Regions from separate parts of the Homo sapiens genome. Here region 2 is linked to region 1. The links are contacts of gene promoters, found by promoter capture Hi-C in blood cells and fetal thymus (Javierre and others, 2016). All regions are on one chromosome and are shown on one strand. The core of a region is centred on a gene start or on the middle of the fragment in contact, and the rest is flanking DNA. Distances in the headings are between cores, read along the strand shown. Region 1 holds the start of ABCD3 (ATP binding cassette subfamily D member 3). Region 2 overlaps ZNF644 (zinc finger protein 644).

Region 1 (4,420 bases), core at 647-3,146:
TAGGTGGACTGTGACTGGATGGGGGCATGAGGAGAATTTCTGGGGTGCTGATAATGTTCTGTTTCTTGATCTGGGTGCTGATTACACGAGTGTGTTCTACTTGTAAAAATTCTTCAAGCTCTATGTGTACTATATGTATGTGGCATGTATGTGATACTATATCACATATACATATAATCATAAAAGTAATCCAGAACTTGTAGGGCTGTCCTCGAGTCCCCTCCTCCATATTAAAACACCTGTTCTATGCCCTGAAACACTTCTTTGCAAAAACAGAATTCAAGTTAAAGGACCTAACATCTTCTTTCTACTGGCATGTTCCCAGGTAACAGGTAACTTCTATTTGCAACTGGGAGTTCATACAAACCAACAGAAAAACTTGCTTTTTATTTTCCCAAATTAATCCTTTTAAAAGCAAACTGAATAGAAGAAAAATGAGTAAGCGCTGTTATTGCCCAGACTATGCTGCAAATCATTTTCAACTCTGTTAAATGGATTTAGGAAGGAAAAGAAAGATCATCACTTCAGACTCTAGTAAGATAAAAACAGAAGGCGGCTAGAAAGAACTTAATGGAAAGGGTACTATAAACTAGAAGTCTATTTGTGTTTTAGCCCAAATTTTACTACTAATTAGATATTGTAGGCAAATCAAACACGGGAGGCAACAGTACCTGCTCAGAGGAATGAATGAAATAAAATTCATGAAAGTAGTATGTCAAGATTTAATACGAAATATTCAATGACTGGCAAGAACGCTTGGGAAGTAGCCTTTTCTCTTTCACTTGTCCAGCAAATAAAAATTGCATGTATGTGACATACATACCTGTATGTCGCAACCGTAATTCAGCTCTCTCTTTTTTACTTTTTCTGAACTGATAACCTCCCAAAGTTAAATCTAAGCACTGAAATTCTCCCGCGGTGGAAGCAGTGGCGTGTCATTAAAAAGGAGCTTGATCCTCACCTAAACCACACTCTCATCTTTCACCTACAGAGCCCAGGAAGGAAAACATTTCCCTCTAAGTCCGACAGAACCGATCCAGCCTTTCCGGATGAAATGCCACCGACCAAATGTTCACCGACCAAAGGGTTCACCGACTCCAAGGGCTCACCACTTTAGACGGCAATCCTGCCAAGTGGACCGGGAATAGTTTCATAGAAGCCACCCTCGCGACTTTCAATAGCAGTTAGTCGGGAATCGAGCCAAACCTCGTCCAAGTGACTTAGACACCAGCCTCCAGCCTGGCGAATCCAATCCCCATCCTCAATCACACATCCACGTCCCCAAAACAAATCCTTCACGGTCTGAAGATGAGATGGCAAAACCAGAACACACCCAGAAAGTTGACACAGAAGGGGGTGATGTAGGGAAGGGGGTGGGGGACACACCGCATCCCCCTCCCACCCCCAACTGGAGGCCGCTGCCTGAGTGCTGGCTGGGCGCCGGTTCGCCCGCGGGCACAGAAGAATTCGCACTCCCGGGGTGGAGCGAGGTCGCCGGACAGGCCAGCTGGGACCGACGCCGTCGTGGCGGGGACTCGCGGACACCCTGACATTGAAGTCCCACGGCAGTCGCGGTCGGCCCTCTCTCCGCCCGACCCCGTCGGGCAAAGAGACCTGTCGGCCGGGTGGGGAGAGAGAGCGCGCGGGGAGCGCCCGCTCCAGCCCGGGAAAGCTGCACGGCTACGGGCCTTCTTACCCGTGCAGGCCGAGGGCGCGGCGCCGCTTGTGGAGCAGGCAGAGCAGCAGGAACGCGGCACCAGCCAGCGAGGAGTTTCGCGCCGTCAAGTACTTGCTGAAGGCCGCCATGGCACTGCCGGTACCAGCGAGCCGGCGAGGGGACGCGGCGGCGGCGGCGGCGGCGGCTACCTTACTGCACGCAGCGCGGGGGAGACTGGGAGGAGAGCAGAGGGCGGGGCCGGCCGCGCAGGACCGCCCCCTGGCTCGCGCCGCCGCGCCGCCCGCGCTCTGGAGCCCACTTTGTACTTTGGCCCGGCGGGAGCGCGCTCGGCAGCCTCCGTGGGCGGAACAGTTCCCGGGACGCGCTCTGCGCACGCGCGGACTCCTTCAGGGTCTCCGGAAACGCGGCGCGGAGGAGCTGTTGCTACTCAGCCCTGCGAGGCGTCAGTGCTGCCCCTGCCTCACCCCTACCCTCCCACTCTTCGCGCGCACACCCCGGCTTTCACAATAACTGGATGAGCGGGCCTGGCCTGCAGCGACGACCTAGTGGGCCCTGCCTCTCCACTCCCGCGGTGATGTACCGTTACCACCCTCTTAAAGGAGCCCAGGAAGGAGGCGGACGGCCCCGTCACAGAGCGTGTAGGGAAAACACAGCACAGTGATTATCAGGACGAAACCAAACAATCGGAACTCCGCAGAGGTGTAGGGAGATGTGAGGAGAATGACACAGATCAAAGAGCTTTTTCCAAGCCAGTATTTTCCAAACCGCGGGTTATAATCTCTAGCGCATTGTGAAATTGGTTTGGTAGATCGGGATCATCACCCTCCGTTTTTAATAAAATTGAGAATAGAACAAAATAGAAAAGTTTCACAGTACATCACGTAGTAAAGGAGTTGTTTAGAGAAATTTCGATTTCAGTGTTTTGCACGTATGTATCGCCAGCGGCGATGTAAAATGTATGCAGATCTGGTCAGAAAAAAGTTTGAGAAACACTGTTCTTTGCAAAGGGACATTCAGAAGTAACAATCGTGCGTTGTATTAATGCTGGCCTCACTCCCAGAATCAGAAGGGCTTTGCAGATTACAACATTCTTCTCCTGTCTGACCCTATGTTGCAGGAATTGTTATCGCCAGCATTGAGCCTAGCATATATACAGTAACAGTGAATCGCTGTTTTCAGCTGAGGAAACTGGAGAAAAGCAAGTGTGTCAGAAAATAAGCTCATAAAACCTCGCATAATGCACATACATATTAAAGTAGCCTACAAAGTAGTGGTGCTGTGCCCTAGGTGTTTTCTCAATATAAATGAGCTGTTGCCTAATACAGGTTATGAGGATCACAAAGACGAGGTACAATAATGGCATGCGTATAGAGGTGCTCAACAGTGAATTCTAAATTATGCAGAACTGAAGCTCCTACTAATTCACTATTTGTCATGTGGACATTTTCATTACCTGGAGGGACAAAAGGTTTTGGCCCTCTGAAAGTTAACTGAAAACCGCTGACATAAGGCAGATTAATAGAAGAAAAAATTAATAGGAGAAAAGGCATACAAATTTAATGTGTATACATGGGAGCGTTCAGAATGGAGACCCAAAGATACTTGGAAAATTGTCCATTTTTGTGTTTAGGTTCAACAAAGTATGGACAGCTATGTAGAAATGTGATTGGACAAAAATGGTATAATCTAATGCTAACAGACTGAGTGGGGACACCCAGCAAGGCCTGTCTAGATTCTTCTTGGCCTTCTGAGCACCATTCCTTCCTTCTGGGTATAGGGCAGGAATGGAATGGAGCTCTTAACAGCCTACAGTCAAACAAGGCAGGTCAGATAATTTCTTTATGGCCAGATTTTACAGAAAAAGGGGGAGGGAAAACTAGCAAAATATGTTTAGGCTTTTATGGCTGGCTTTAGGGGATAGAGGTTCTGGTTTCTACATCTTGTCTTGAGGAATAGGGATCCTAATATCTATGGCTAGCCTAGGGAAATACGGGACTGAGAGACAGGAGGGCCAGAGTAGGGCAGAGAACTTTTGCTACTGAGACCTTCATTTTGGAGTATTGTGTTGTGAGCCCCAACGACCTCACATAATTTACGTAATTAAGTATGCCTGGCACAGATAACACAAGGATGAACAGATCATGGAGATCATATTCTCCAGAGGCTGTTAGAGAAGAAAAACGTGTAAAAAAAATCAAGTATAAATGTGGTAAGTACTATATTAGAGATATGAACAAGGTGCTATGAGAACACAAACATGAAAATATTTAGTTTTGTCTAATGCTTTCAATAAAGGCTTAAGGCTTGACAAAGGTGATTCTGTAGCTAAATTCTAAAGGACCGCAGGAGTCACTCAGGAGGACAAAACAGGAAATTACTAATTCAGTAATAAAGTGCTAGAAAAGAGTTGGGAACCTTGTGAGAAAGTAACGGTATCATCTTAGAGTTTGTAACAGTGAAGGAAGTACAAGCAAGATTAGTCAAAAACAGTCTAGAAAATAGATTTCAAAACAGTCAGAGGAAAGATAGAAATGATCTATTGACAAAACATTCTAAAAGTTACCCTTGTTCAAGAAGCATGGGAGATTCTAAAAAATTACACTAGTTATTCGAGCTCAAATAATTTTAGCTATTGATAAAGCCCATCTGACAAAAATCACCAGGACCAAATCTGGAACCCATTAAGTTTATTAATTTGCTACAGCAAAAGATACTATACAGCAGAGGAATTGTGGCCATGTC
Region 2 (4,434 bases), core at 267-2,766, 3.4 Mb after region 1:
ATATAAGTTGAGCCACAAATGCAATTTTAGATTTTCTATAGCCACATCAAAAAATAAAATAAATAGGTGAAATTTTATTAATGGATTTTTATTTAACCCAGTATCTAAATACTATTATTTCATCATATAAACATGATTGAACTATTTTACATTTTTTCTTTTTTTAACCATGTTAAGTCTTCAAAATCTGTTAGTATTACATACTTAAAGCACATCTCAATTCAGACTAGCCAGAGTTCAGGTATTCAGTAGCCACATGAAGTTACTGTATTGGACAGTGCAATTACAGATAGTAAGTCCTATGGGGTATAGGGAAAGAATAACATAGAAATTGAACTGAACCGTAAAGGATAGCTGAGAACAGAAAATGCTTGAGAAGAATATTCCCATAAAGAAGTGATAGGAATTAAAACAGCAAATACAGTTTGATACCAGGTAATAGAGTGGCTTGAATCCAGTTTAGGGAATTTGGTTTGGGTGTGTATATGTGTGTGTGTGTGTGTATGTGTGTGTGTGTGTGTGTGTGTGTGTGTGTGAGAGAGAGATTGGAAATATATATTGGAGGGTGCCTAATTCGTGTCTCATACATGAGCACTTGATAAATACTGAATTAACTGGGTGCATTGGCTCATGCCTGTAGTCCCAGCACTATGGGAGGCTGAGGTCGGCAGATCGCCTGAGGTCAGGAGTTTGAGACCAGCTTGGCCAATATGATGAAATATCCCGTCTCTACTGAAAATACAAAAATTAGCTGGGCATGGTGGTGTGCACCTATAATGCCACCTACTTGGGAGGCTGAGGCGGGAGAATTGCTTAAACATGAGAGGCGGAGGTTGCAGTAAGCCAAGATCATGCCACTGCATCCCCACCTGGGCGACAGAGTGAGACTCAGTCTCCAAAAAACAAAAGAAAAAAGATAAATATTGAATTAATATTTAGAGAGAATTAATATGACACTACAGAAAATGCTGGAAAAAACATCCTAACAAAGCCTAGTCGATCTTCAAAAGGGAAAGTGTTTCATTTAGGGAATATTGATGTTCTGTGATTAACAATATGATGGAGATTGATAAAGAAGGATGAGAATTGAGAAAAGGTTTTTAGATTTAGCTATTAATTGGTTACTTGTTTTTAAGTATTTTTTTTAGGTATAACATACAGTGAAGTGCACAAATCTTAAGTACAACTCAGTGAATTTATACATATAAGTATACCTAGGTAACTCCCAGGTAGTGGGAGGTACTGGGTTACACCTGGGGAGAAGAGGATGTAAAAAAAGCACAGACATGAGAATTGTGGAATGCAAGCATTTTCCGTGATTAGAGCCTATTTTAAATGAAATACCCAGATAGAGATGTAGAATATTTTTCTTCACTGATTAAAGGTGCCTTGTGCTCCCTCCTATTAATTTCTCCCTACAGAAGTAACCACTATTTTAACCTCTAACCTCTATCACCATAAATTAGTTTTTGCTTGTTTCTTTTTCTTTTCCTTCCTTTTTTTTTCTTTTGAGACAGGGTCTCAGTCTGTCACCCTAGCTGGAGTGCATTGGCGCAATCTCAGCTCACTGCAGCCTTCACCTCCCAGGCTCAAGCGATCCTCCTCCTTCAGCTTCCTGAGTACCTGGAACTACAGGTGCATGCCATCATGCCTGGCTGATTTTTTTTTTTTTTCTTTCGGTAGTAGAGATAGGGTTTTACCATGTTGCCCGGGCTGGAGTTTTTGTTTCTAAACTTCTTATGGCATATTTGTCCTCCCTCCCAAGGGTAGTGAGAATTGATGCTTGAATCCATCTCTCTTTTCTTCTGTCCTTGTTTGGCATTGTTATGAATTGGGAGGTAAATCAGGTGATATTTGGTACTATGGCCCTTTTTTCCCCCCAGTGACAAAATCAGAGAGGTGCTTCTTAGTGTTCATTAATAGTAATCCTTTAGAGGTTAGTTTTATGACTTGATATTTTGTTTAGAATGCAGAGATTTGAATTTGCCTCCACCGATAACATAGTTGCCTGGCTTGCTGTCATTACAGTATTCTCTAGGCATATAGCCAGGAAGTAGGTGGAGGAAGTTGTGGATTGCCTCCTTATATAGATGGTTTTTGGAGCCTCTTTGATGGTAGCTTCCAGGCATTATGTCAGTTAGCTATTAGGCATTTTAGGTTGCTTATTAAGGTATTTGGGTATTTCTGATTGTAATTTTAGAGGTAGGAATAAATAGGTGTACTTTTTTTTTATAGGTAGGCATCTACCTGTTCAACAGAAAAGTAGAATATAACTAGAATGTTACCTTATGGACAGTTGCTTACAAGTGTGAATGGTTAAAGCCCATGTAGGAGACTTTATAAATGGAAAACTGAAATAGAATTGTTGATCATGATTTTTACTTTTAGTGCTTGAATCAGTTTTTTTCCCCCAAATGGAATTAATAGTTGTAGCATTATTTTTCGTAAATACTGAGCAGTAGAAACCTTATTGTAGTATAGCAGTATTAAATTGGTGCTTTGCAGATAAAGAATTTTTTCTGAAATGGGTATTATAATGTTGTTAAACGTATATAATAAAAAATATATCTTCACATTCTAGTATATCTGGTTTTGAAGAATGAATATGTAAATTGCGCAGAAATGGGTATGAAAAGACTTTCTCATTAACATTTGGATTGTGAATGCTCGAGTTTATAAATGAAAATATTTACTCTATATAAAGAAGTTTTGTCTTTTGGAATTTGTAATAAGTTCATTTAATATACTCTTGCTCCAGGGATTTCAGTATTTGTCTTGAAGAAATAATAAAATCTCACCTGTCAACTTTTCTTATTGTAGCTTTTGTGAAGTATAGAAGGCTAAAGCAAATTGGTTAAATTAGACATTGAAAAAAGTATATGATTATTATCTCCAAAATATTGAGACTTTACACATAACAGCTTTTGGGGGCTAGATTTAGAAAATCACTAACATAAAACAATTAGAATGTTCTTAATTATAGTTTTCAGAACTGACTATGTAGAAAAAAATACACTCAAGTTTGTGTTCTATGTTTACATGTTGTTTTGACAAAAATGAATGTTATGTTTGAATTTAGTTTTGGGAGATTTCAGTTTTTTTGTATTCAGAAAAGTCTTGTTTGTCTGGTTGTATTTCCCCCAATTTTCATAACTTTTATTTAACTGGGTTAGTTGTCATACAAAATTCAGCTAATGCTCCACTAGGGGTAGGGTTGCATATACATAGAGCACAGATATGGCTTCTACTCCAAAGAGCTCATGATCTAAGATATAGCTTGAAGAGTACTTAACTATGAAACATTTAAATTACTGAGCTGACAAAATAAAATGAATGATCTGTAATAAGATTAATAAAGCTTTTTGACAAAAATAATTTTTTACCTAGATTTTGAAGAAGTGGTGTGTATAGGTTGGTGGAAAGGGAAGGAGATAACAGCTAGGGGGAAGAGCATGTTAAAAAAGCACAGATATTTTGGGATGCTGAGGCAGGTGGAGCACCTGAGGTCAGGAGTTTGAGACCAGCCTCGCCAACATGGTGAAACCCAGTCTTTACTAAAAATACAAAAAAAAAAAAAAAAAATTAGCCAAGCGTGATGGTGGGTGCCTGCAATCCCAGCTATTCGGGAAGCTGAGGCAGGAGAATCACTTGAACCTGGGAGGTAGAAGTTGTGGTGAGCTGAGATTGTGCCACTGCACTCAGCCTGGGCAACAGAGTGAGACTGTGTCTCAGAAAAAAAAAAAAAAAAAAAGGCACAGACATGAGAATTGTGGAATGCAAGCGTTTTCCTTGGTTAGAGTCTATTTTAAATGCATATAATAAAAAGTAATAAGATTGTGGCATGAGCTGGAGGGATCTAAAGAAGTTTGGATTAGAAATTGGAAATAAGGAGTTCTACTGAAGATCATTGAATAGAATTACATGAAGAAATATGATTAGCAGCCAGATACAGCGTGATTGGAGGGAGATTGAAGTGAGGAAGGCCAGTTGGTGATTATTATCTTTGTGAGTGGGAAGGGTATATTAAGAGTAAGGATGCATAGTTTTAAATAAGTCAAATCAAATATTGTGGCTCCTCAGTTTGTAGTGCAGAGCTAAAATAAGAATGAAAGAATTTTACTATCTTCTGGTATTCAAAATAAATGGAGATAGAGTTTGCATATGACTTACTAGCACTAATTGAGGTATGCCTTTTTCTTAAAAAAACTGGCTTGGCCTTTTTTTTCTGTTAAGTTTACTTTGAAAACCAATAAAGTTATGCTATAATGGTGTTTTCCTAAGTAAAAAATATTTAAGGTAACTGGTAAGAAGAGCTTGTACTTGTATGCTGAATTTTGAGTTAAAATTCTGTATTTTAGCCATGGCTTAAGAGACATTATAATTTGTATTGGAGCTGGCAGGAAAACAGGAAATAATAAAAATTAACAATGTGGA

What was found. Contacts are between HindIII fragments. The CHiCAGO score rates a contact against its expected background, and 5 or more counts as called.
Region 2: a contact is called between a fragment that was not itself captured here and the fragment with the promoter of ABCD3 in region 1, in 1 of 17 cell types (non-activated CD4 T cells). The highest score is 5.1, in non-activated CD4 T cells.

What each region holds. Positions count from the first base shown.
Region 1 is chr1:94,415,865-94,420,284 of GRCh38, reverse strand. It overlaps ABCD3 (ATP binding cassette subfamily D member 3), which reads right to left and starts at 1,896. Exons shown (of 23, transcript NM_002858.4): 1 at 1,697-1,896. The coding sequence starts at 1,806. RefSeq lists enhancers at 1,305-1,444, 1,916-2,707 and a silencer at 1,775-2,154. The HindIII fragment of the contact is 10,166 bases long and covers 1-4,420 here.
Region 2 is chr1:91,009,554-91,013,987 of GRCh38, reverse strand. All of the region lies in intron 1 of ZNF644 (zinc finger protein 644), which reads left to right. Among named protein-coding and RNA genes, the nearest start is that of ZNF644, 10 kb to the left of the region's middle. The HindIII fragment of the contact is 3,689 bases long and covers 1-3,360 here.